Regions from separate parts of the Homo sapiens genome. Here regions 1, 2, 3, 4 and 5 are each linked to region 6. The links are contacts of gene promoters, found by promoter capture Hi-C in blood cells and fetal thymus (Javierre and others, 2016). All regions are on one chromosome and are shown on one strand. Each heading gives the region's core, a stretch centred on a gene start or on the middle of the fragment in contact. The rest is flanking DNA. Distances are from core to core; before and after follow the strand shown. Region 1 has its middle 20 kb from the start of LINC00619. Region 2 overlaps LINC00841 (long intergenic non-protein coding RNA 841). Region 3 overlaps LOC105378275 (a long non-coding RNA gene). Region 4 overlaps LINC02659 (long intergenic non-protein coding RNA 2659). Region 5 holds the start of LINC00619 (long intergenic non-protein coding RNA 619). Region 6 holds the start of LINC02881 (long intergenic non-protein coding RNA 2881).

Region 1 (4,154 bases), core at 1,471-3,970, 470 kb before region 6:
TCTTTCGTTTGTACAGAGCAACATAATAGTATCTGTCTCCTACAGTTGGTTCAGTGATTAGAGCTGGGCCTAATCAGCACTGTGTATAGAAGTTGGTTTTTACTTTCGTTTGCTATTGCTGCAGAATTCAAGTGGTTCAATATTGATAAAACCAAGGTAACAAAGAGGAGTTGAAAAGAAAATAATTTAATCATAAATCCAGGCAAAAAGCTTGTATATAAAATTAAACATGAAAAAAAGTCTGGGCTAGTAAAAACAGAGTTTCTGGCAGAAGCATTCTTTTCCATTGTAAATACCATGGTTATTAAGTCCTTGTGTGATTTTTTGGCATCTTTTCATTTTTGGAGGATATTTTTAATAGTTTTGTTTCCTTCTGACTACCCTTACATGACTTCATAGTGCTATGTAGGGGAAATTATGGGAGTAGAGAGGCCTTAATATAGAATATTAAATGCATGGACTCAGAGTGTTTTAACAATGTTGTCACTGGAGTACTCAGAATGCTGTTTCTAGTGAGTTTTTGCCACACTTACAAGTTGTGACATTTTCCAAGAAAAATACTACATTTTAGAAAGTCATACGGAAGGAGTCATGATTTGGATTATATTTTACATTATATTATATGTGTCTTTTGTTTTTGTAACTTTATTTACTAACTCTGACTTTTATAATAAAGAAATTTTAGCGCACAATGAGAATATCTGGCATATTTGGAAGGCTGCATTTGGTAAGCCATTTTGGACTACTTAGAGCAGGGGTCTGCAACCTATGGGCTGATACTGGTCTGTGGCCTGTTAGGAACTGGGATGCTACAGCACGAGGTGAGTGGTGAGTGAGCATTGCTGCATGAGCTCTGCTTCCTGTCAGATCAGTAGTGGCATTAGATTCTCATAGGAGCATGAACCCTACTGTGAACTGCACATATGAGGGTTCTAGGCTGCACGTTCTTTATAAGAATCTAACTAATGCCTGATGATCTGAGGTGGAACTGTTTCATCCTGACCCATACACCCTGCCTGTGGAAAAATTGTCTTCCATGAAACTGGTCCCTGGTGCCAAAAAGGTTGGGGACTGCTGGCTTAGTGTAATTGTGACATAAACAAAGAACATTATTCCTGTGATTTTATTTAAAATGTCTGGCTCTCATATCACTGTGAATATGGTCTATTCAGACTATGAAAGAGTTAAGGTTAACATGAGATTGAAAATTTACTTCATTATAAAAGTTGGCTATGTTTACCTGCTTTCTATGAAAAAACTCAAATTAACCAAATATATGATTCCAAATATCTAGGCAATGCCCTTAGGTATGCAAAAGTGGATTTTTATAATTGCCTTACTCTTGGTTGGAACTGTGTAGACACATCTTTGCCTTGTCTACAATTCCACCCAGTGACAATGTTATTTATTTTATTTTATTTTTGAGACAGAGTCTCACTCTGTTATCCAGGCTGGAGTGCAGTGGCACGACCTTGGCTCACTGCAACCTCTGCCTCCCAGGTTCAAGCAATTCTCGTGCCTCAGCCTCCAAGTAGCTGGGATTACAGGTGAGCGCCACTGTGCCCGGCTACTCTTTGTATTTTTAGTAGTGGCAGGTTTTCACTATGTTGCCCAGGCTGGTCTCAAACTCCTGGACTCAAGTGATCTGCCCGCCTCAGCCTCCCAAAGTGCTGGGATTACAGTTGTGAGCCATAGTGCCTGGTCCCACTCTCAATTTTAAAGGGCTGTAAGTACTTTCGGGCAAGCACTATGCTGAAAGTTTTGTTCCAAATGCTATTGTTAATCTACTTTTCACCAATCTGATCTGCTCCATTAGCTTCAAAAGACACTTTTTTGTTTGTTTGGGTTTGCCTTTGATGGCCTTCTGCCTGCCACAAGCAATCCTCTAGAATATGGGCCTGTGCTTGGCTTTTCTACCCAAACATGAACAACCTTAAATTACTGGGCGACATTCATCGCCTCCTGCCAACTAGAGAGAGAGGCCCGTCCTGGTGAGAGTGGGACCTTGAGCTCCTCTCGGCCTTGCTTGGGCCTTGGTCCAGGAGGTTATGGGAAGAAACTGGTTTAGAAGCTGACCTCATGGGTTCGCTATTCTTATGTAACACTTAGGAAGAGCAGAGACCCACGCGGTTCAGTCCCAGAGCAATGTTGTGGTCAAGAGAACACAGTCCAGCTACCAATAGTTATTTCAAAATAATTCAAGCTCTTTGTTTATATTTTTTTAAAAAAGAAAAAAGACAAAAAAAGGAAGGGGTGGCCGAGCTGGAAACCTGGCTTTAAGTCCCCTTTGTTTCCCTTCAGGGGGCCCCTCAGGTGGGCGCCTGCTTGGAAACCTCTCCACCCTTCCAAACACCCCTTTCCTACCTGAATGTTCATTTGCTGATCCAGATTCTGAATAAATGAAGTCGCACAGAATCTACCTGGCAGAAAGGAAACTGCCTGGAGGCCAGAGCTGAGGGGAGGCCCAGAGCAGAGCGGGCGCGTGACTCCGCAGTGAGCAGGGAGGGCAGGCTGGGGACGTTCACCACCCAGAGCGCCTCTGCTCCCGGCAGCCCTGAGACTCCAGGCTCCCCTGTTCCTCCCTCCCAGAGACCCTGCCGGTCCTCCCCGCCGGGCTCCCTCGCAGCTCGCAGCTCGCAGCTCGGGGAAAGGGCGGGCTGCGCCCTCAGGACCTTTCTCAGCAGCCACAGCAGCGCATCCCAGCACCTCCTCCAGGAGCCCCGCCATCTCCTGCCACCCGGACTTTCCCCACAGCGCAGCATCCCCTAGTCCCTTCAGGGCTGGAACAGTGGTACCCGCAGACGGTGCAATAGGGAAGTCCCTTTTGCCTTTCCATGGAAGCTGTAGGGCGCTTAGAGCTGCTGGGGGAGGAAAAGAAAGAAGAAGAAGAAATACAGTAAGTGTGATATGGGTACAAAGAAACGAACATGCAGCTTCCGTGTGCCTAGACAGGAGCCCTGGGACATGTGCACTGGGCCTGCGTCATCGCCTGCCTTCAGCGGGCTCCAGACCTTCCAGAGGCCCCCCTCACCACCCGCGGCCCTCCTGAGGCTCCCCTCACCCCCACCCACCTCCGAGGCCCTCCCGAGGCTCCCGGGCTCGCGCTCCTCTGAGTTGCCTGCGGCTGACTCCAGGTGTGGCCTGGGTCTAGTGTCTGGGGGGGTCGTTCCCAACGAAGGGGAAGAAGGCTTTTCGTGAGCATGTAAGGAGTACATCCTCATTTTGTCTTCTCAATCTGTTCACCCAGCGCCTGTGACCCGGACCCAGCGCGCGACTCACAGACCCCGGCTCTGGGCACCCCTGGTGAGTGCCTTCTGCCCCAGAGCTCCACACAGCACCAGCCTGCACGCTCCCCCAGCTTCAGTTCATTTGCTGCTGTCCTGACAGGTCAGTCGCTTGAGCATCCATGCTGCCAGGTGACAAACCCAGTCACGCAGAGGTGTACATCCTTTAGCCAGGGTGACACGATGTGGAGCTGAATCCAAGTCCGGGAGTCTGGTGACCGTATCTGGGCTCTGACTGCGCAGCTGTCTCACAGTGAAACAAATTGGGGACTGGCCTTGTCCTGAGTGGCCTTAGGACGGTGCAGTGGCCTGCAGCCTCCTGTCCAGTCCCCACCATTGACAAGTGCATCGATGTCCCACAGCTGTGCCACTAGAGGCTGTTTGACTGTGGTAGTTTCACATGTATCTGCTTAGTCCTCTTTTGCCAGACTTTACGCTTTGTGTGCCAGTTCCAATTTAGGTAAAAATTCTGGATATTCTCGGTTATCCCACGTGGAGGAAGGACTGAGCAAACTCACATCCATCACCCTGACCAGGGCCTGAGAGCAGCAGCCTCTCCGCGGGCAACTCTGTTACTAGGACTCTGGGCGTGAGGGGAAGCGGAGGGGGCAGCTCTGTTACTAAGAGTTAGGGAACCCAGCGGAGCTCCACTGTAAGTGAATGTCTAGTTCGACTATATTTTCTTGTAGAATCATTAACTCCAAAAGAATTGAATTGAATGATGTACAATTCACAAACACACGACTTTACCATCTCACCAGAAACACTCTTACCACAAGGACACTAAGTTGATTCTGTAAAATGTGGGAAATACAATGCACCTCGAAGCCTTGCAGGCTCCTGTTTTTCTTTCCTTTTCTCTTTTTTTAG
Region 2 (4,011 bases), core at 853-3,352, 360 kb before region 6:
AAATATATATGTATATAAAATAGTAGCCCTCTTAATGGTGTGAGGTGGTATCTTGTTTTGATTTGCATTTGATGATTAGTAACGTTGAGCATCTTTTCATGTGCTTATTAGCTATCTGTGCATTTTCTTTGGAGAAATATTTTCTGAAGTCCTTTGCCCATTTTTGAATTGAGTTGTTAGTTTTTTGTTGTTGAGTTTTAGAATTTCTATATACATTCTGGATATTAATCTCTTATGAAATAAGTGATTTGCAAATATATTCTCCCATTCTGTGAGTTGTTTTTACTCTGCCAATAGTGTCTTCTGATGCACAAAAATTTTAAATGTTCATGAAGTTCAATTTATCCATTTTTTCTTTTGTTGCCTATTCTTAATCAAATCAATAACTACATTAAATGTAAATGAGTTACATACCTCAATATAAAAGAAGACATTATCAGATGCAACCCATTTATAATGTAAATTTAAAAGAAGTAAGGCCACGTGTGGTGGCTAAAGCCTGGAATCCCAGCTACTTCAGTGGCCAAGACATGAGAATTGGTTGTGCCACTGTCCTGTAGCCAGGGTGACAGAGTGAGACCCTGTCTCAAAAAAAAAAAAAAAAAAAAAGTAAGACTGAGCATATGCGGCCTAAGTAAAACTCATTTTAAATACAAAGATATAAATAAATGAAAAGTATAAGAATTAAAAAAAACTATTCTAACTCTAATCAAAAGAAACCTGGAGTGGCTATTTTAAATACAAGGCAAAGTAGATTTCAGAGCAACAATTTCTACCAGGAATGAAGAAGGTCATTTGGAGGTCATTTCAAAATAACAAAGGCATTAATTTATCAACATGACGTAACAATTCTAAATTTTATGCATGTAATAAGAACTTCACAATAAATGAAGCAAAACCTGGGAGAACTTGAAGGAGAAATAGACAGATCCATAGGTATAATCAGAGATTTAACTAGCCCTTTCTCCATAACTTATATGCTATATAACAGAAAATCAATAATAATGTAGAAACTTTGAACAACAGTCAGCCAGCTAGAATGAATTGACACCTCTGACAACAGCAGAATACATATTCTTTTCAAGCGCACTCAAGACATTTACCATATTATACCATATTCTTGCCATGAATTGGAGGCCTTATTGATACAGAATGTTTGGGCTCCTGGCTAAACCCCACCCTTAAGCCTGGAACTGTAGCCCTAAGTGAAAACAGCTGACCTTGTTTTTAATGCCCAAATGTTGCCTTTTTGGTCTATCACTCCCCTATTCTGTATTGCTCTGCCACAAAAAGACATCAGCTGGCAGAGCAATACAAGCTGCTGAGTGGCAAGCACAGAAGCAGCAAGGGAGCTTCTGAGACTAAGGATAGACACGGCTAACGTCAGATGGTGTGGCTTCAGGGAAAGATCACCTTCTTTCCGCACCATCCCCTTTCCAATTCCCCATCCCACAAGGAGCCACCTTTATCACCTAATAAAATCCTCTGCATACACTACCCTTCAGTCTGTTTGTGTGACCTGATTCTTCCTGGATGCCAGGCAAGAACCTGGGTGCTCAGAGGGCAGGGACTTGGACACTGCTGCAGGGCCCACACAACCTGCTCCTGACAGAGAGGAGTGACCGGCTGGCTCTAGCATTCATTCCCTCTGGTTCCTGCACTTGCTTGCTCATGTGCTCCCTCTCTCAAGGAGTGGCCAACAGCTGGCTGAGTGAAACAAGCCACTCCAGTTCCTGCCCACAAAGGGGCTCAAGGGAACTATCCTGTCTCACTAGCTCCAAATATAGTCACACTGGGGGTTAAGGCTTCAACATATAAATTTGCGGAGGAGGATAAAATTCAATCCATAACATTTGCAAAATCTCTATAAACTTAAAAGCATTTTACAAAGTATGTTCTCTGACTCCAATATATTAAATTAGAAATCAATTTTTGAAAACCTCTGGAAAATTCTCAAATATTTGAAAACTGAGTAAAACAGTTCAACATAAACCATGAGCAAAAATGAAAACTACATTAAAATGAACTTCTAAAGTGTTTTGAACTACCTGAAAAAGAAAATAGTACATATCAATATTTGTGGTAAGCAGCTAAAGCAGTTCCTAGGGGAAAGTTATAGCACTATAATTCTATTATAGAAAAGAATGTCTCAAATCAATGACAACAGCATCTACCTTAAATTAGGGATGGCAGAACAAGTTAAACACAAGTTAAATAAAAGAAAGAAAATAATAAAGATCAGAATAGGAATCAATGAAATCTATAACAGAAGTAAAATAGATAAACTTAAATAAATTAATAGTTGCTTCTTTGACAAGATTAACAAAATTGATAAACCTTATTGCATGCCGATTAGAAAAGAAATTACTAATATTAGAAATGAGAGAGGATCCCTTCTCGGAGTTTTGGCTAGGATCAAGTATAGGAATGAGAGAGGTGACATCACTACAGATTCTACAGATGTTGAAAATAAAATAAAGAAATATTTTAAACAACTTTGTGCCAATAAATCAACAATTTATATAAAATGGACAAAGCCCTTGAAAGATACAAACTACCAATGCTCAGTCAAGTAGAGATAGCTCTACTTGATAGATAGCTCTATATCAAACAAATAATTAGTTGTTAAAACCTTCCCACAACAAACCTCCAGGCCCATATGACTCTGCTGGCAATTCTTCTAAACATTTAAGAAAGAAATAATATGAGTCCTACAGACATTATTCCAGAAATTTGGAGAGGAGTGAATATGTTCCAACTCAATCTATAAGGCCAATTTTATCCTGATACTAAAATCAAAGCCTTAACTGAAAAAGAACATTGCAGACCAATATCATTTATGAACATAGATGCTGTATTAGTTCCCTCAGGCTACCATAAGAAAATATCACAGACCAGCTGTCTTAAACAACAGAACTTTATTTTCTCACAGTTTTGGAGGTTGGAAGATGAGATCAAGGTGCCAGCAGGCTGCTGGTGGGTCCTCTCTCCTGGGCTTGCAGAAGGCTGTCTTCTTGCATGTCCTCACATGGCCTTTCCTCATGCACATTCACTCCTGGTATTTCTCCCTCTTCTTATAAGGACACCAGTCTTATTGGATTAAGATCCCATCCTTATGACCTCATTTAACTTTAATTACCTCATTAAATGCCCTATCTCTCGATATAGTCACATTGGGGGTTAAGGCTTCAACATATAAATTTGGGGGATAGAATTCAATCCATCGTAGAGGGAAACACTCTTAAAAACATTTTTTTTAGCAAACCGAATTCAATAATATAAAAAATGAATCACCACCGAGTAGTTGTATTGCAGGGATTCAATGATGATTTAACATTTGAAAATCAGTCAGTGCATTTCACCACATTAGGAAATTGAAAACGAAAAAAAAAACCCCACCTATCATCTCAACAAACACAGAAAAAGTATTTGACAAAACTCATCACGTATTCCTGATAAAAACTCTCAGAAAACTAGGAATAGAGAAAAAGTTTCCTGATCTGACAGAAGGCAGTTAGGAAAAAACTCTGTAGTTAATGTTCCTACTTCAGGCTGACAGACCGAATCCTTCCCATTATGATCAGAAACAGAACAAGGTGTCTGTCTTTACCTTTTCTAGTCAACAGATACTGGGTGTTCCTGTCAGGGCAATTAGGCAAGAAAGAGAAAAAAGTCACTGAGAGTGGAAAGGAAGAATTAAAGTTATTTTTACTCACAGATGGCATAATAGTCCATGAAGATGTGATGGATTCCACAAAACCTCGTAGAAGACATAACAGAGAATATACTTCAGTAAGGAGACTTTGAAATCAGAAGGTAGATTTCCCAATAAAAAGAAGTTCACAGGAAAAAAAGTAAACTTTTCGGCCATTTAAAAAATGCTAAGACTGACGATTTTTGTTTTTTGAAGATTTATTTTTATTTTTATTTTTGAGACAGAGTCTTGCTCTGTTGCCCAGTCTGGAATGCAGTGGCGCAATCTCGGCTCACTGCAACCTCTGCTTTTTGGGT
Region 3 (3,908 bases), core at 1,363-3,862, 510 kb before region 6:
CATTTCCTAAAAATGGGGGGAGACGGCTATTGGTGGGATACTCTATTCACATCTGTCTCCACTGCATGTCTACAGAACGGCTCCCTGTAGTCTGGGAGTAGCGTTCCCTGGCTTCTCTGAGCTTCCTGCGGTCCACGAAAGGCTGTTTCCCTTGACAGAAGCCTTTCCTCTTCTTCCATATCTGGTTGACTGCATGTCCTTTGGAGCCAGCCCTCTGGACTGAGGACTTGAATCTCTGATTAATCCGCCCAGTACTCAGCTCCATGGCCTCAGTGGTGTCCACGAGACTCTTGACACGGGACCTATTCACAAGGGAAGGCACCTCCCCACAGATGCACCTGAAAGCCGTGGACCCTGTGATTCTCAGGAATTCGGCTGACTGATGGAGCAATCCTTCCCACACGGGTGAAGGTGGAGGACTCCCCTTGACCCAGACACACGGGTATTCCGTGAGTTTCTTGACGGTGCCAGTTCCTCTGAAGTATGGATTTTACTCCTTGGTGTTGTCTGATTAGATAAACTCTCCAAGATAAAGATCCGGATATATTGGCAAGGGACCTGGCTTTTAGAAAACATATTCCTCAGATTTAAAGTTGTAGGCCCTCTTTTCTCTCCAGGTATGTGAAGAAAATACCTTTGGCAAAGGTCTTGGTGGGCTGGCGCCTGTATCTGCTTAGCTTCTGGAAGAACTGGCTCGTGCACTGAGAATCTGCTTCTTCCATATCTGGCTAGAAGTCTCATTAGATGTATGATCTACAGTCTGGCCAGGGTGCATTCCATCTACTCGGCTTCTGGGTCCCATTGCAATCCAACTTTAACCTTGATTCTCTGCCCCAGGAGAGGGATGGTTATCTGAGAAGACCCATCATTAGGCCCAGCCTTGGGCTCCTGGGCCCACCTGCAGCCAGTGGGCCATCCTCTGGGTGGTTTGCAGCCACAGTTGGGAGGGAGGTTGAGTTCAAGGGTTTGCTAGTTTGTAAGTGAATTTTATTGCTGTAACATCATTCTCACTCACTTGCCCTCTGACGTGCTTTCTTGGGCAGGAGGGAAGGTCAGGGTGACTCAGTGGTGCAGAAATTATCTTGATTCCTGGGCACCCCCTGGACCCCACCTGGGCCTCTGGTCCAAGGAAAGCAACGACACTCACGTTAGGGCCCTGAATACTCAAGTCCAGCCTCTGCCTTTTTGTAAATAGTAAATCTACCCGAGGTTATGTACATCCCAAAGGGGAAATGTGCCTTTTCCACCCTGTTACACAGCGTGGAGGTGCATTTACAACTTGAATGTGAGAAATTCACCCCCAGCTGGACACCAAGGCCAAAGGGCCTTCTTACTGTCAGGCTTCTCTGCTGCAGGCCTGATGTGCATGGCAGACTCACACCTCTGATGATCTCAGCCAGACGAGACGAGGGCCATTAAGGTGGGAATTCAATTTCTGGACTTCAGTTATACCATGAAATGTTATGTGGCTATTTAAAAAGCATGCTTTTGGAGTTATTTTAAGACATGGGAAGATGTTCTTAGTACATTACAAAGTTGAAGAAAAGGACAGGGCCCTAAGCTGCTTCCTCAGTAAGACCCCCATTTTGTTATCTGTATATATAGCCATATCAAAATGCTGATGATAGATATTTTTGGGTGACTTCATTATAGGTACTTTCTAATATTTTTCAAATATCTACAGTGTATGTGAATTATTTTGTAATGAGAAAAGACACATTGTTGAATTAGTATAAGTTTTGTTAAAAAAAACTGTATTAAAATTATGAGTTTCATAATTTATAATGAACCCCCACCCACAGACCCATCACCCATTCTCAAAAATTACCCCAACTATGGGCTAATCTTATTTCATCTATGCCACCATCTACTTCTCTCCTGCTCATATTACTATTTTTAAATTAACAGACAATTTTTGAGAGCAGTTTTTGGCTTAAAAAAGTGGAGCAGACACAATGGAGAGTTCCCACATGCTCTCCCCTGACCCCAGTTTCCCTATTACAAACATATTGCATTAATGTGGAATGTTTGTACAATGGATGAACCAATACTGATGAATTCTTATTAATTAAAGTCCCTAGGTTACTGTAGGGTTCACTCTTTGTTTTGTATAGTTCCGTGAACACAGGTTTTTAGCTTTTTTTATTCCACAACTTATCAAGTGGATTATTCCCAAGACTACAAATGTCTGAACCAACTTAACTATTTGAAGTATCTAAATTGCATTCCAACTACAATCCAGGAACAAGTGAGGTGATGAAGAAGCCCTTTAGAAACATCTGAAAAGCACAAAGTTGAGAACACAGCAGCCACATTGAAATCTCCATCCCTAGTATATGAGTATAAAGCAACAGCAGTGTGGGTTGCTGGTGCTGATGTGTGGGGGCTGGGTTGTAGGGCTGCGCCTGCTGCCTGGGGAAGGTGAGCCTCACTCCTCCGGGAACAGTAACTTTAACTGGAGCACAGTTGTTGAGGCAGTGGGAGTGGGAAGGAGCGTGCAGAATGTTCTCCAAGACTGATTGGAGCCAGAACCTACAAAGGGGATTAAAAAAAATTAAAAAGTAATCCTGGAAGCCTAATGAAACAGAGACTTTCTCAGCAGTGGAATGGGGGAGCAATGCCCAGCCATGATGTCACCATGGCCGGCCAGGCAGCTCTTTCCAGACACCTGCCAGACGCTAATTAGTCCAGGCCTCCAGAGCAGGGATCCGGGTGGGAGCAGAGGGAGCAGAGGTCATTTTCCCCAGGACATTTGCAACCTGTCAGAGTTTAATGCCCTCTCCCCACAACCAGCCTACAGTAGAGTTTTGGTTTCTATATGCAGAAGGGGACAAAAATTGTCATAGCCAGCTGACTCAGCCCCTAAATTAATCATGCCAGTTGTGGTAGAGACCACATTGACTGTTTGCTCTTCAACAATCTCACTGATAAGCACTTCCTGCATGGGGCCAGGCTTCTGGGAGGCACTGGTGGCAAGACAGGGCAGGCTCTGCAGGGGCACTGACCTCCCACTGCAGGACACCAAGCCCCTGAAGACAGTGGGGGCTGCTCTTTATTTGCTTATTTCCAGGGGCCCCACCAGCCTTCACTTTGCCCTGTGTAGCCAAAGGGCCATGTGCATGCACAGACACATGTCATCTGGGTTTCCTGAGAGTGGAGGAGACCAAAACTGAATTCTGAGTTTCCAAGTTTCCAAATATTCAGCCCGTCATGATGGTGTGGGCAAGCCCTCCTGTGTGGATGGAGTCACAGAGAGCCGGACGCTGCTTCCTTCCACCTTCTTTTGGGGCCACAGCTAGACGTCAGTCACTTCTCAGCAGTGGGCCTCACCCCTTCCCAGCCAGGAGCACCAAACTCAACCCAGGACCATTCAGATTCTTAGGCTACTTTAGAGAATCTGTACAAACCTATATAGAAAAGCAATTAGGAAACTTTAAAAAGAAAACTAGGAGAAGGGACTAGCTCTACATGATTCCAAAATATATTTTAGGTTTCCATGGAAAATGGCACCTGGTAAGAATTCCAGATACAACCTCCTCTCCCTTTCCATGAAAAGACCTAGGAAGAAACAGAAACGCTTGGATACTAACAGATTCTTACTGCATGTGTATTGCATACCAGGTATCATGCTGGGTACTTCCAGCAGCTCATCAAGGTTGGCGGAGTAACTGACCCCACTTACAGAGGACACCCACCCGCCCAGGCATGCACAACCCCACAGACTCAGCCAGCAAGGGGCACGATGGGTGTCATGTCTAGCCCTTCCTGGACCCCAGGGCTGTGCTCCTACTGAGGCCACTCACCTGGTCTTCAGAATCCTGGGGGAATTTCCACAGCATGGGAACCTAAGGGGCTGAACCAAGAATCACGTGCAGAAGCTGGCAGTGTCTGAGCCTGGGACAGATAGG
Region 4 (4,164 bases), core at 11-2,510, 390 kb before region 6:
ACGATTGGAAGTGGGCAGGGAAGACCAAGGGAAAGATATGGCCTTCTCCTGGGAGTCCAGAAGTGATTGTTATGTCTGGGAGCTCCCAGACATGTATTTTCCAGGTCCTGGGATTTTAGTTACAAAGTTCTGCATGAGCTGTGAGTGAGGTGGGCTGGTAGCACAGGGCTAGGAGTGATGGTTCACACACGATTCTTCAAGGGGCTGGTAGAGGGGCACCTCCGAGAGGGGGAGCTTCAGGGCCAGGGAAATACGAAGACCCGAGCAGAGCTGAATGAGTTAGAACAGGGGGAGGTTGTTCTTCTTCACTGCCCAGCCTGCCCCCATCCCAGCTGCCGGCACACGAGCTACTGAGACCCAGGCGTGTGGCCAATCCACAGGAGGTGGGCTGTGAGTGTGAAGTGCATGGCAGACACACACGAGCTCAAAGACCTGGCCTGAAGAGAAGAAAGCAACCGATCCCATTAATAAGTTATGTGAAGGTTACATGCTGAACTGATAATATTTTGGATGTATTAAGTTAAATAAATTATATTACATGATTTTACTAGTTTCTCTTTACTGTTTTTTTTTTTTTTTTTTTTTTTTTTAGTGTGGCTCCTAGAACATTTGAAACTATGTATGTGCTTTGTATCACACTCTATTGGACAATACTAATCTAGGCTCTTCTTAAAGCTCCAGGAGCAAAATATACAAACACAGAAGAAAACACACACGTGCACGTGGACACACACACACACACACACACACACACACACACACTCTAGAGGGTTTCAGGCAGCTCCAGCAGCTGGAAGACAAGACTGCTCGAGATAAGTCTGTTGAAACTGTGATAAATTAAAAAATAACGCAGACCACCCCCGGCCCTTGGGGAGCTCCTGCTAGTGCTCAGTCCCCATTGTGCCAGCGCCTGACTCCTCTTTTCCTGCCCTCGCCTCCAGCCCAGTTCAGGCTGCTTCCCACTTTCTGAACGCCACCACAGACTCAGGGTGTCAGATGTGCTGGGAGAAAACAAGCGCTTACATTTCAGAAATAAGAAATCTTTTTCTCAGGCTTTGGGGTTAATGGTATGAGAGTTTCTGCATTCCAGCTGCTGTGCTGGGTCTCTGGCAGGCCAGCTGTTCTCTGCTCCAATGGAAAACATAACTAAGTAGTCATTTCAGTGTGTAAAAAGTTCAGCAGAATTGTTGGAGCTATCACCATAAATCAGAAATGACTTTCTTTAGGGACTCGATTGCCACTTGATTTAGCATTTCCTGGCACCTTGCCTATCATAGAATGAAGCCATGATTGCTTCCTATACAGAATGTTATCTGTAAAACATCTCACCAGAAGCCCACAGAACGCTGACCAGCCTGCAAGTTTTGATAATCTATGGCTGGCCTTCGTATTGAGAATAAATTTGACAATGGGACCCATTGTTAAATTAGATAATATATTTCATGGAACAGCTTCCAAATGAAAATGGGGTTCATACAGTTTTTTACATATCATTTGTTCCAGAAAAAGGAAAAATGGACTCTGTTCAAGGGAGAAAATTCAGTGAAATATTCATACTGTGAAATCTGAGAAATTATCCTAAGCAAACTACATGCTGACATGCTTTGTTACTGTATGAATGGGGAAATGTGAATCGGCTGAGGGAAGGGTAGGGTGACAGCCGCATGATGGAAATGTCGAGAGTTCCCTTAGCTTAGTTCCTTACATGTAAAGAAGGAACAATGTAGTTGGGAAGGATCACGGGGAAGGTCTAGAAGACTCTCTCCAATGCCCTGTAGCTTTTCCTGGCATGTGCGCTGTCCAGAAGAGAGGCCCAGAGGGGAAGAGGGAGGCTGTAAGATTTGTAGGTAGAGATTCTGCCTTTCACAAAGCCAGGGAGGCACTAACCCCAGCTGACACTTGTCATGGGCTGTGAGCCATGAACAGGCCAAGAACAGGGGTGAACCTCGCTGGCGCTCAGCAGAGAACAAGGGCACTTCCAGGAAACTCCCAGTGGCTTCCAAACTGAGAAAAGAACCAAGGGCAGAGACGCTCCACTCAGGCCATCTCAGAACGGCTTGCTTCCTGGCTCCCGGGGCTGCTGAATCAGCATAGAGAACTGAGAACTCGGTCTTCTTCCCTGCCCCTTCCCTTGGGTCGGAATAACTCAGACCGGGATCCCCACTAATGGTTCTGGACAAACATTGCATTCCCTCTGTAATGTCGAGCACACAGATGAAAATCACCAGGAGAATGAGAAGATAGCACAGTTCAAAAGGAGGAAGCACTCTGAGGAATCAGGGGAAATATTTTCCTATAAAATATAGTTTCTGAAAGAGATGGGAAAATTTTGAGAACACTTCTGATCTGTGTTTCCAATAAACTTCAAATGAGCATTTCTTCTATGAAATTCGAGTAGAGAACCATAAAGAAAAAAAACAAACAGGGTAGGGAAGGCTGTGAGATGATTTAAAAAATGTTCATTTCAGAAATGGAAACGGGGAAGGGGAGAGCAAAATGGACCTTTCAGTAAAAAAGGTTTTATAAGAGAGAAGTCAAATTTGACATCACAGAAGTCAGAGGAAGAGGATAAGAGAAGGTTAATTAGAGAAAATATAGGAAAAGCATGGGCTGAGATATATTTAATTTATAAATATTAGGCATTCCAGAGAAAGAACCTCCAAAAGTGGAGCTATCATTAAAGAACTATTTGGTGGAAATTTTCCCAAGTTAAAGAAAGACTCTTCAGAAATCTAGATAAAATAATGAAGGGCTTTTTTTTGCCTAGACTTACCCTGATAATTTATTTTAATTTCAAGAAAAAGCCCCCACAAATTCAGTGAGGGTCAAGGCGATAAAACTTGGTTCCTGTTTCTTTGTAACACGAAGACAATGATCATCAGTTGCAGAAATGTGACCAAGAAAAGTATGGTGACCCACATGGGGTTTCCAGATAAAATGCAGGATGCCCAGGCAATATTGGGGGCATTCTTATACCAGAAGCGTTATTTCATGTTTATCTGAAATTTAAATTGAAGTGTCTGTCCTGCATTCTCCCATTTTGGCTCCCCTAGCTGCCATGCAGACATTGAGATCCCAGTGCAGAAAAGCTGCGTTCTCTTGTGAACTTGAGAAGTTCAGACCCCATGTGAGGGTCTGGACAGACAACAGCCACAAAAAAATGCAAACAAGAAACATCTTAGTGAGTCATTTTTAAGCCAACTGAGTGAGGAATCAAAATATCAAATCCAAAAATGGAGAATTCATGATATAAAATACTAATAAAAATAAACAAATAACCTCTTCCCCCCAAACAAACATAAACTATAGAACAAAATTAATGTAATTCTCAATGGGACATTAAAACACAACAAGAATGCCAAAAATAATTTCCAAAAGAGGACACATGGTTAAAAATATTAACTAAGTAATAGTTATCTAGTTCAAATAACCTACTGTATCACTAAAAATTGGGAATTGAATGGCCAGAAGACAAGATGTAAAAGTGGAGTATATTCCTCATATCACACAGAGAAGGATCAATTTATATTGTCTTTTTTTTTTTTTTTCCTGAAGAGGGGTCTTGCTCTGTTGCCCAAACTGAAGTGCAGTGGTGCAATCACAGCTTACTGTAACTTTGAACTCCTGGGCTCAAGTGATCCTCCTACCTCAGCCTCCCAAAGCACTGGGATTGCAAGTGTGAGCCACTATGCCAGGCCTATTTTTGATAATGAAAATTAGAGAAAGTAGATTCCAGTGCATACTTATTAAATGTCATTACTAACAGAATGAAAATAGTAGATGTGAGTTCCAAATCACAAGGGAAAAGTCAGGTTAAAAAAGTAACCTCAATATAAAAGGTGTATTAAAAATGACCATAAAACAAAATAGCAGAAATAAAATTAAGCATATAAATCATGTTAATAAAATGATCAGGATGAACTCTTATTTTGAATCACAGACTCACATTTGGTTAAGAGTAAAATCTAAATACTGCGTTAGTGTACCCAGTTAATCCAAAAATATTAAAAATAAGGCAATGGGCAATGATATAGTGAATGAATCCCAACAAAAAGAGACAGGAGTGTGAATATGAACAGGAGACAAGGTGGAACTCAAGGCCAAAACAGCTAAAAGAAAAAATCCACAATGAAAGAATGACAATTTTGCACACTTCTATGGTGA
Region 5 (4,483 bases), core at 1,189-3,688, 450 kb before region 6:
CCAAGGCCAGAACTTCTTCCAGGAGACACTGCTGAGGAAGACGAACAGAAAGAATGAATTAGTGTAAGAAAAAAAGGAAGAGCAGCAGGAATGAATGGAGGAAAGAAGGAAGGAGGAAGGGGAAGGGACTTGGACTGCTTCTTATGGGCTGGGGGAGCTGTTCGTGTTATATGTCCCACACGTTATCTTATTTACTCCTTGGGGTAATCTGACATTTTTGCCTTCATTTTAAAGATGAGGAAACAGAAGCCTCATGGGGGTAAGCAATGGCTGGGCCAGAATCAAACCCTGGCAATGGGACTTGTGTCTCTTAGCTCCACTGCCTCTAAATGGAGATATGAATGAAACGTTGGGGGATAGGATGGACAGCATGCTCACTTACTGACTGCACGTATAATAACAAGGTGATTGTGTTCTGAGTGGTCCTTCCTGGATTGATCTGTGCTGTCAGAAGTCAGGACAGGGGCTAGCCCTGGAAGATGTGGGGGCCAGACACACAGAAGCCTTCTGTGGCATGAGTCACATGTGTCTCAAGCTGGATGCTGGGGGCTGGGCCTGTGGTAGGGGAAGCTTCTATAATGTAAATCTGGAGTCCTACAGTCACAGCATCTTTGGGTAATTGAGACAAGGGCTGATGCAATCAGTAGAATATTAGAATGTGTCACTGAGTTAATGGACACAGTGTGCCTGGAATGCACATCACCCTAAACCCGGGGATAGATCCACTGCCGTGGGGGTGGAATCTGTTAGAACTCTCCAAGCTCCATGGGGCTCGAACTTCAGTGCCAAAGCGGGATGGGTTTGTGGCTTCAGCTCTCTGGGACACAGCTGCCAGCCTCTCCTTGTCCAGCTGGCTTCTTGAAGGTTGGGATCGGAGGCTCATCCATGCACAAGAGCTTCTGGACACAGATTCTTTGGCTCCAGTCTTTGGTTCAAACAAAAGGCATTTTCGTAAGCCTCTGTCTTCTTGCCCTGCTTTGAGCAAGTTCAGTTCAAATTCTGAGTTGCTTTTGGCTCTGGCCAAATTCTGCTGTTCTTGGAGGTTTGCTTTGTTTCTTTTTGATGCTCTACAAGTCAAAAATTGCAACATACACCAAGGAGAAAACATGTGGCGAAGACAATGAAAAACAGATCCGGGCCTGCCAAAGAAAGAGGTGGAAAGACAGAACCTGTCAGTTCCATACATCGTGCAGTTCTGGGTGCTCCACTCCAGAGCAAATGTGCTGGCCTGTGGATGGAATTCTTCCTGAGTGAGCCCTGCTTTTTAGATCTGGGTTCAATAAAGATAATTCTCTTCATCCAGTGTAATCTTCAAGTGTTCCATGACTTTTTTCCCTCAAGATCTTTCACCTACTTCTTATAAAAGCAACTGAATGTTGATTTAGGTTTGGGCTGGCAATAATGATGAAAAGTTGGTGACTTGGGGCTCTATGTTCAAAAACCATCTGCATCTCACCATTGCGAGGTGGACTTGTGAATTCCTTTTTTAGTCATAAAAAACTCACAGAATTCCATGAAGGGAAGGAGCCAAGGGGCCCACCTCTCACAGAGGCTGCTGTACCAGGCGGGTAGATGATGACATTCTCGAGGGTTTGCAAGTGCTGCCAGTCTGTGAGGCTGAAGGGTGTCCACAGGAGGAGGGGGCCCTGTGTCTGCAGGCTTGTAGTCTCCAGTGAAGCAACTCAGGGAGATCCTGCTCCACATCAGAACAAAGGCTAGAAACAGGAATTTCTGACTCTGAAAATCCGGATTATAATTATAGTGGAGTGATTGAGAATACCAAGAAGTGATTGATTCTCAGGAGGTGGAGGATACACTTTCACAGTTAATACAGCATGACAAAACAAAGCAAAACAAAAACTAACAACCTTGCCCTGTGGGGTAGAAACAACAGAATTATCCTTCCTAACATCCTTAATTTTAAATTATATATCCACATGTATACATATTAGCCCATTTTTTTTTCTCCAGAAGATTGTTAGTTCCCTGAGGGTGAGGCCTCTTTTTCTTTTCCCCCCACTTCTGTTTTCCAGCCATTAGTACAGTTCCTGGAAGATTGTATCTTGACAATTTATGTAGTCATTTATTTATTTGAGTACTATTTATTGAAGGCCTTCTATCCAGTGAACACTGTTCGGAAGAATATCACAGTGAACAGAAGGGACAAGAATTCCTTCCTCCCAAGGCTTACATTTGAAAGGCATGGGAAAAACAAAACAAAAAAAGAAACCAAATAACTAGAAGGGATTGTGGTGTAAAACCTAAATCATAACCAAGGGAGGGGCATGCAGGTCACATTTTAGTTGGCATGGTGGTTACTTAGTCTCTGAGGTCATTAAGTGGCCTGTGGTCTGAGGCAGGTGCAACGTGAGAAATCCAGAGAATCATGAGGGGGTAGGGCAGGCTTAGAAAAGGGAGAATCTGCTGCCAGAGAGGCCAGATGCCATGAGTCCAAAGGAATCATCCCGCCCCCAGCAGACAAGCGTGGAGCCAGCCTGCTCCTCTGGCCAAAGCATTCCACCCCCGGACCTCTCCTCCAGGTACTTCCTGTCCAGACGGGCAGTGGCCCCAGAGCCTGGGAAACCTGCCCCACAGGTGAGGGCAAGGGGTGTGTCTGAAGTGGGTGAGAGGCTGGTATGAGCCTTGGTTGCTGCTCTGGAAACAGGAAGAAGAGATGTGGAAGAAGAGATGTGGGTATGGTGGATTCTGACCCTTGGCTCCCCAAAGTTCCACAGGTATGTGCAGTTTATCGGTCTCATTGATTATTAAGTTCTGTGGGGGAACGGCTCTGTCAACATCGTCCCAGAGACATCTGTTGATGCCTTAGTGTTCCCTGCGGTCAAGGTGCCTGCAGTATGGCGGAGGAGACTCATGCAGAAAATCAGAACTGTATTATCTTAGTGCCAAAACAGAAGTGGGCATTTTGACATTGCAGTGGCAAAAGGAGGACATGGTCAGCTACAGGTGGCTATCTTAGTTTATTAATAGCAAAATATTAAAAAATATTTTAAAAATTATATTTGCCTCCCAGTGGAGGGTCTTGGGTAATTGGGCAACCCAGTGCTAAAGATAGGACTGGGACTTTCATCATAAACCTTTTATACATTTGTGTTTTTTGACATTTAAAAATCAGAATATTTTCAGCTTAAAAAAAAACATAATAAGCTTCCATAGTTCTTAGAACTGGGACTGTCCACATCAGGAATACGTGATTTGCAATGCCAAGAAAGATGTGCTGAATTTATTCGGCAAACTAAAGAGAAAATAAAATTTATTTGAGTATTTAAAAAAACCCAGGAATGAGTGCTATGCATGCCACACACTAGCATGCCAGATAAAACAGATGTGGAGTCAGAAACTGAATGATGTGCCTCTTGACCTTTGATTTGACCTCTTGTGCCTTTGATTTTGTCATGTGTATATATTACTTATTTAAGAATTATTCATGTAATTGTAAAAGTGGATGAGGAAATGATGTAAAAACAGCTACTCCTTGTGGAAGGTTGGCCTTTGTGCTAAGTGCTGTTTGCTCCACCTCATTCCTAGAGCAGGGAGCATTTGCAGAGGCTTGGGAGGGAGTGGACGTGTCCCTGATGCTAAGGGCAGAGGAGGAGCGGGGCCCTCGGGCAGCTGGAAGGGCATCCTGAAAAGACGCCTGCCTGCCGCCGTTCTCCTGGCAGCAGGGCGCGCTGGGAAGCACCAGGCAGGAAGTGAAGAATTTCCGGTTGTCAGCGGAGGGATGGGGCGTCACCAAGTCTGTGGCAAGCACACCAAGAACCAGCTAAGTCCAAGGCTCACCTGCATGGCAAATGGTGAAGGTAAAGTCCAGCTGCCAGCCCAAAGTAGAGCGCTTTTACAGCAAGCTGCTCTCAAATCATTTCCAAAATCAAAGTTGCTGTAGCTGCAGTCAGGGAACTTCAACAGGATGTGGGCCAGGGGTAAGACAGAAGCATATCTTTACCTGGTTCTCCATCTGGGAGATGAGCATCCCGAGGGAGAAGGACAAGACACCTCAGTAAGGACTGGTGCTCAATGTGTCGGGGCGTGGGGGGCGTGGGGGGCGTGGGGGCTGGGTGGGTGGGTGGTGAGGAAGCAGGAGGGGCCAGATGGAGAAATTCGAATTGTTCCTTTTGCTGCAGACAATAGGAGCACGATAAAGTTTTCAGCAGGGGAGCCATGTGATCACATTTCTGCTTTAGAAACAAAGGGAAGAGCTCAAAATCCTGGAAAGATGATATCTGAGCTGGAAGCCCTCATTGAGTTCTGACCCTCTCCTTGTGAAGCAAGCAACTTGCCAACATCATCAAACCCTTCATTTAAACTCAGAAGAAAAACAAAACAAAGCAAAACAATGCAACCCCCAAACCCTTCCTGTCATTGACCCTGGGTCACCGTCCTATTTCTAACAGGCACATTTTAATTACTGGCAACTCATTTTCTTGATTGGGTCTCTACAGCAGGCTGGAGTCTTTACTCTTGAAGA
Region 6 (4,108 bases), core at 672-3,171:
TTGTTTTTGAGTTTTTATTATTTTCCTACAATTTGGACTAAATCCTGAATTCTTTCTTGGCTGCAAGTCTTCAAACTAATGCTTTTGAACTTTTCTCTCATTTTTCTCACTTGGAATCACTAGAATTTAAAACTGCTTTTCTTGAAGCCCTGCAAACTAAAGTTAGACAACTTGATATAAACTTCAGGAGGAGTCAGCACAGCAACTCACATGTACACAGCCTTTGTGCCTGCTGATGTATGGGCTACTCAGGAAGTTCACATGAACACGTAATTCAAACTATAATCCAGGAAAATCTGTAAGATTACCACTACAATCTGAAGATACTTCTGAGACTCTAGAAAAACTAGTTTATTATGGACTATTCCAGACATTAAGAAAAACCTTTGTTTTTCTTTGTTTCCATAGAAATGCCTCTTATTAAAGACCAGCTTGCCTGCATCAGCTGTAGAAGCCCAGCCCCTCTGTAGTGCCACCTCCTAGAATGGACACAGCTGTTTGACCAAATGCTTCTACTCTTAGGACTAAGAGACTGATTCAAGAAGATATGGGACAACATATTTATTTATTTTTCTTTTCTGCTTATCCCAATTTGTTTTTTCCCCTTCTTTGCCTTCTTTTCCTCTAACCCAAATCTCTCCATAATCACTGATTCAGCTGTTGATAATGTGAAATTCTAGGGAAGTTCCAAACAGGAGGATTGAAGGAGCGCAGGGAACTTGGCCCCAAAATATGGCTCCCTGGTATGAGTATTTTCAATTAAAGTCCCTCAAGATCAACAGAAGCTGGAAGAGTCCTCTCCCTTATCTACATGAAGACCCTGCAGACCCACCAAAGAGAACAATTACTTTTCCTTCTCCTCCCTCTTATCTCATTATCTATTGCAGAAAAGAAAACCAACACGTGACCACACCTGAACAGACGCTTTCAAAAAAATAATCCATTTCTCCAGCTTATTAAATTTTCAAAGAGAACCATTTACGAATAACTCTCTGTTTCTTGACCCATTCATTCTCCTTAATAATAATTTATTGCCCCTCAACAGAATCACCTACATTCCGCCTTCCACCCTCCTCTCTGAAAAAACGCTGTATAAGTATCTGGACCTCATGGGATATTGGGTAATCACCTTATTTTTCCCGTGTACACGTTAATAAATTTGTATGCATTTCTCTTATTAATCTGCATTGTACACTTAAAAAGTATTAAAAGAGTGAAATTTATGTTATGAATATTTTATCACAATAAAACAATATTTTAAAAAACTGACAAAAATTCTTTTTAATTTCTTTCAAGTGAGGAATTACCAACTACTTAACAGGGTGCTTAGAATGGGGGATTTTACCAGATAAGTGGCATGCTTTTTACAATTAACAATTGCTGTTATTTACTGAGTATCCACTTTCTCTGCCAGCTCCTGCGTTAAGCACTTTACATATACTAATTCAAATCCTTAAAAAAGAAAATAAAGAAGAGAAAAGGAAAGAAAAATAAGAACATGTAAGGCTATAAGGTGCCTCATCTTTGCCAAATTCTACAGACTGGCCAGGAGACTGCAGGCCACTGCAGCTTCCTAAGGCCACTCAGGACAAGGCCAGTCCGCAATTTGTTTCACTGTGAGACGGCTGCGCGGTCAGAGCCCAGACACGGTCATCAGACTCCCGGACTTGGATTCAGCTCCACATGGTGTCACCCTGGGTAAAGGATGTACATCTCTGCGTGCCTGGGTTTGTATGGATGGCAGCATGGATGCTCAGGCAACTGACCCGTCAGGACTGCAGCAAATGAACAGAAGCTGGGGGAGAGCGCGGGCTGGTGCTGTACGGAGCTCTGGCGCAGAAGGCGCTCACCAGGGGTGCCCAGAGCCGGGGTCTGTGCGCCGCGGGTTGGATCCGGGTCACAGGCTCTGGGTGGACAGAGTGAGAAGACAAAATGAGGATGTACTCCTCAGATGCTCACGAAAGGCCTCCTTCCCCTTCTTTGGGAACGACCCCCCCCCACCCCCTCCCCCCAACAGGCAGTCCCAGGCCGCGCCAGGACTCGGCCGCAGGCAACTCGGAGGAGCGGGAGCCCAGGGGCCTCAGGAGGGCCTCGGGAGTGGGGAGGTGAAGGGGGCGTCGGGAGGGCCGCGGGTGGGAGGCGGGATAGGGAGGCGGGGAGACTCGGAGCGGGGTTGGGGAGGCGAAGAATGGAGGTGGGGAGGTGGGGAGGGGGGCTTCGGGAGGGCCGCGGGTGGGAGGGGGATGGGGAAGCGAGAAGGGGGGGCGGGGAGGGGGGCCTCGGGAGGACCGCGGGTGGGAGGTGGGTGGGGAGGGGGGCCTGGGGAAGGATGGAGCCCGCTGAAGGCAGGCGATGACGCAGGCCCAGTGTACTTCTCCTGGGGGCTCCTTTCTAGGCCCACGGAAGCTCCGTGTTGGTTTCTTTGTACCCATATCACACTCACTGTATTTCTTCTTTCCTTTCCTCTCCCAGCAGCTGTAAGCGCCCTACAGTTTGCATGGGAAGGCAACAGGGACTTCCCTTTTGCACTGTCTGCGGGTACCGCTGTTCCAGCCCTGAGAGGACGAGGGGACGCTGCGCTGTGGGGAAAGTCCGGGTGGCAGGAGGTGGCGGGGCTCCTGGAGGAGGTGCTGGGATGCGCTGCTGTGGCTGCAGAGAAAGGTCCCGAGGACGCAACCCGTCCCTTCCCCCGAACTGCGAAGGAGCCCCGCGGGGAGGACGGGCAGGGTCTCCCGGAGGGAGGAACAGGGGAGCCTGGAGTCTCAGGGTTGCGGGGAGCAGAGGCGTTCTGGGTGGTGAACGTCCCCAGCCTGCCCTCCCTGCTCACTGCGAGGTCGCGCACCGGCTCTGCTCCAGGCCTTCCCTCAGCCCTGGCCTCCAGGCAGTTTCCATTTTTGCCAGGTGGATTCTGTACGGCTTCATTTATTCAGAATCTGGATCAACAAATGAACACTCAGAGAGGAAAAGGGTGTTTGGAGGGGTGGAGAGGTTTCCAAGCAGGTGCCCACCTGAGGGCCCCCTGAAAGGGGACTTAAAGCCGAGTTTCCAGCTGGGCCACCCTTTTTTTTTCTTTCTTTCTTTCAGAAATATAAACAAAGAGCTTGAATTATTTTGAAATAACTGTTGGTAGCTGGACTGTGTTCTCTTGACCGCAACATTGCTCTGGGACTGAATCGCGTGGGTCTCTGCTCTTCCTAAGTGTTACATAAGAATAGCGAACCCATGAGGTCAGCTTCTAAACCAGTTTCTTCCCATAACCTCCTGGACCAAGTCCCAAGCAAGGCCCAGAGGAGCTCAAGGACCCACTCTCCCCGGGACACTCCTCGCTCTCTAGTTGGAAGGAGGAAATGAATGTCCCCCAGTAATTGAAGGCTGCTCATGTTTGTGTAGAAAAGCCAAGCACAGGCCCATATTCTAGAGGGTTGCTTGCGGCAGGCGGAAGGCCATCGAAGGCAAAACGAAACAAATGAAAAGGCATCTTTTGAAGCTAATGGAACAGATCAGGTGGTCAAAAATGGATAAACAATGGCATTTGGAGCAAAACTTTCAGCTTCTTCGTTTTAGTTCGACAGCCCCAGGAGGGCATGGAAGCTTCTCGCCCTCCTCATATGTCTTGCCCCAGGCATCTCTGTGTCTCTCTCCTCTGTAACATCCTTTATAGTAAATGTAAGTAGGCCTTTCCCTGAGCTCTGTGAGCTGCTCTAGCGAATTATTCAAGTGTTAGGAGGCGTCCTGGGAACATTGATTCGTGGGAACGCCAGTGGGTCAGAAGCACAGGTAAGACCACCTTGCCATTGGCATTGGAAGTGGAGGGCAGGCTTGGGACATGAGGCTTGGGCTTGTGGGGTGTGAGGCCACCTCCAGGTAGAAGGTGTCGATGTTGGAATTGTCCGATGTAGAACTGCCTTCTTGCTTGTGGTGGGGAGAAAACCCACACATTTGGTCACAGAAGTCTTCTGTGTTGATTGTTGTTGAGTGAGAGAAAAAAAGTACTTTGGTTTGTTCTGATATTTTCAGAAAGGCTGTAATCAGTTCCTGGGCAATGCGTCATAATACCTCCGCCTCAGTACACTCCCCATCCTGAGGGGCGGCGCTTGCCATTTCTGAA

Evidence for each region. Contacts are between HindIII fragments. The CHiCAGO score rates a contact against its expected background, and 5 or more counts as called.
Region 1: a fragment that was not itself captured here is called in contact with the fragment with the promoter of LINC02881 in region 6 in 2 of 17 cell types (M0 macrophages and monocytes); the score reaches 5.3 in M0 macrophages.
Region 2: a contact is called between a fragment that was not itself captured here and the fragment with the promoter of LINC02881 in region 6, in 1 of 17 cell types (erythroblasts). The highest score is 5.1, in erythroblasts.
Region 3: a fragment that was not itself captured here is called in contact with the fragment with the promoter of LINC02881 in region 6 in 1 of 17 cell types (M1 macrophages); the score reaches 5.1 in M1 macrophages.
Region 4: a contact is called between a fragment that was not itself captured here and the fragment with the promoter of LINC02881 in region 6, in 1 of 17 cell types (megakaryocytes). The highest score is 5.4, in megakaryocytes.
Region 5: a contact is called between the fragment with the promoter of LINC00619 here and the fragment with the promoter of LINC02881 in region 6, in 5 of 17 cell types (M1 macrophages, megakaryocytes, M2 macrophages and 2 more). The highest score is 6.0, in M1 macrophages.

What each region holds. Positions count from the first base shown.
Region 1 is chr10:43,823,080-43,827,233 of GRCh38, forward strand. No RefSeq gene overlaps it. Among named protein-coding and RNA genes, the nearest start is that of LINC00619, 20 kb to the right of the region's middle. The HindIII fragment of the contact is 5,025 bases long and covers 209-4,154 here.
Region 2 is chr10:43,932,516-43,936,526 of GRCh38, forward strand. The region is part of intron 2 of LINC00841 (long intergenic non-protein coding RNA 841); the gene reads left to right. Among named protein-coding and RNA genes, the nearest start is that of LINC02659, 22 kb to the left of the region's middle. The HindIII fragment of the contact is 6,851 bases long and covers 1-4,011 here.
Region 3 is chr10:43,779,267-43,783,174 of GRCh38, forward strand. LOC105378275 (a long non-coding RNA gene) reads left to right here. Exons shown (of 3, transcript XR_945906.4): 1 at 1-617. Among named protein-coding and RNA genes, the nearest start is that of LINC02658, 2.3 kb to the left of the region's middle. The HindIII fragment of the contact is 5,528 bases long and covers 1-3,908 here.
Region 4 is chr10:43,904,741-43,908,904 of GRCh38, forward strand. The region is part of intron 1 of LINC02659 (long intergenic non-protein coding RNA 2659); the gene reads right to left. Among named protein-coding and RNA genes, the nearest start is that of LINC00841, 2.5 kb to the right of the region's middle. The HindIII fragment of the contact is 7,287 bases long and covers 1-4,164 here.
Region 5 is chr10:43,842,868-43,847,350 of GRCh38, forward strand. It overlaps LINC00619 (long intergenic non-protein coding RNA 619), which reads left to right and starts at 2,439. Exons shown (of 3, transcript NR_033923.1): 1 at 2,439-2,540; 2 at 2,666-2,735. The HindIII fragment of the contact is 2,595 bases long and covers 569-3,163 here.
Region 6 is chr10:44,290,829-44,294,936 of GRCh38, forward strand. It overlaps LINC02881 (long intergenic non-protein coding RNA 2881), which reads left to right and starts at 1,922. Exons shown (of 3, transcript NR_164139.1): 1 at 1,922-2,105; 2 at 2,473-2,661; 3 at 3,085-3,821. It overlaps LOC124902544 (a long non-coding RNA gene), which reads right to left. Exons shown (of 3, transcript XR_007062369.1): 3 at 3,086-4,108. The HindIII fragment of the contact is 4,267 bases long and covers 1-3,589 here.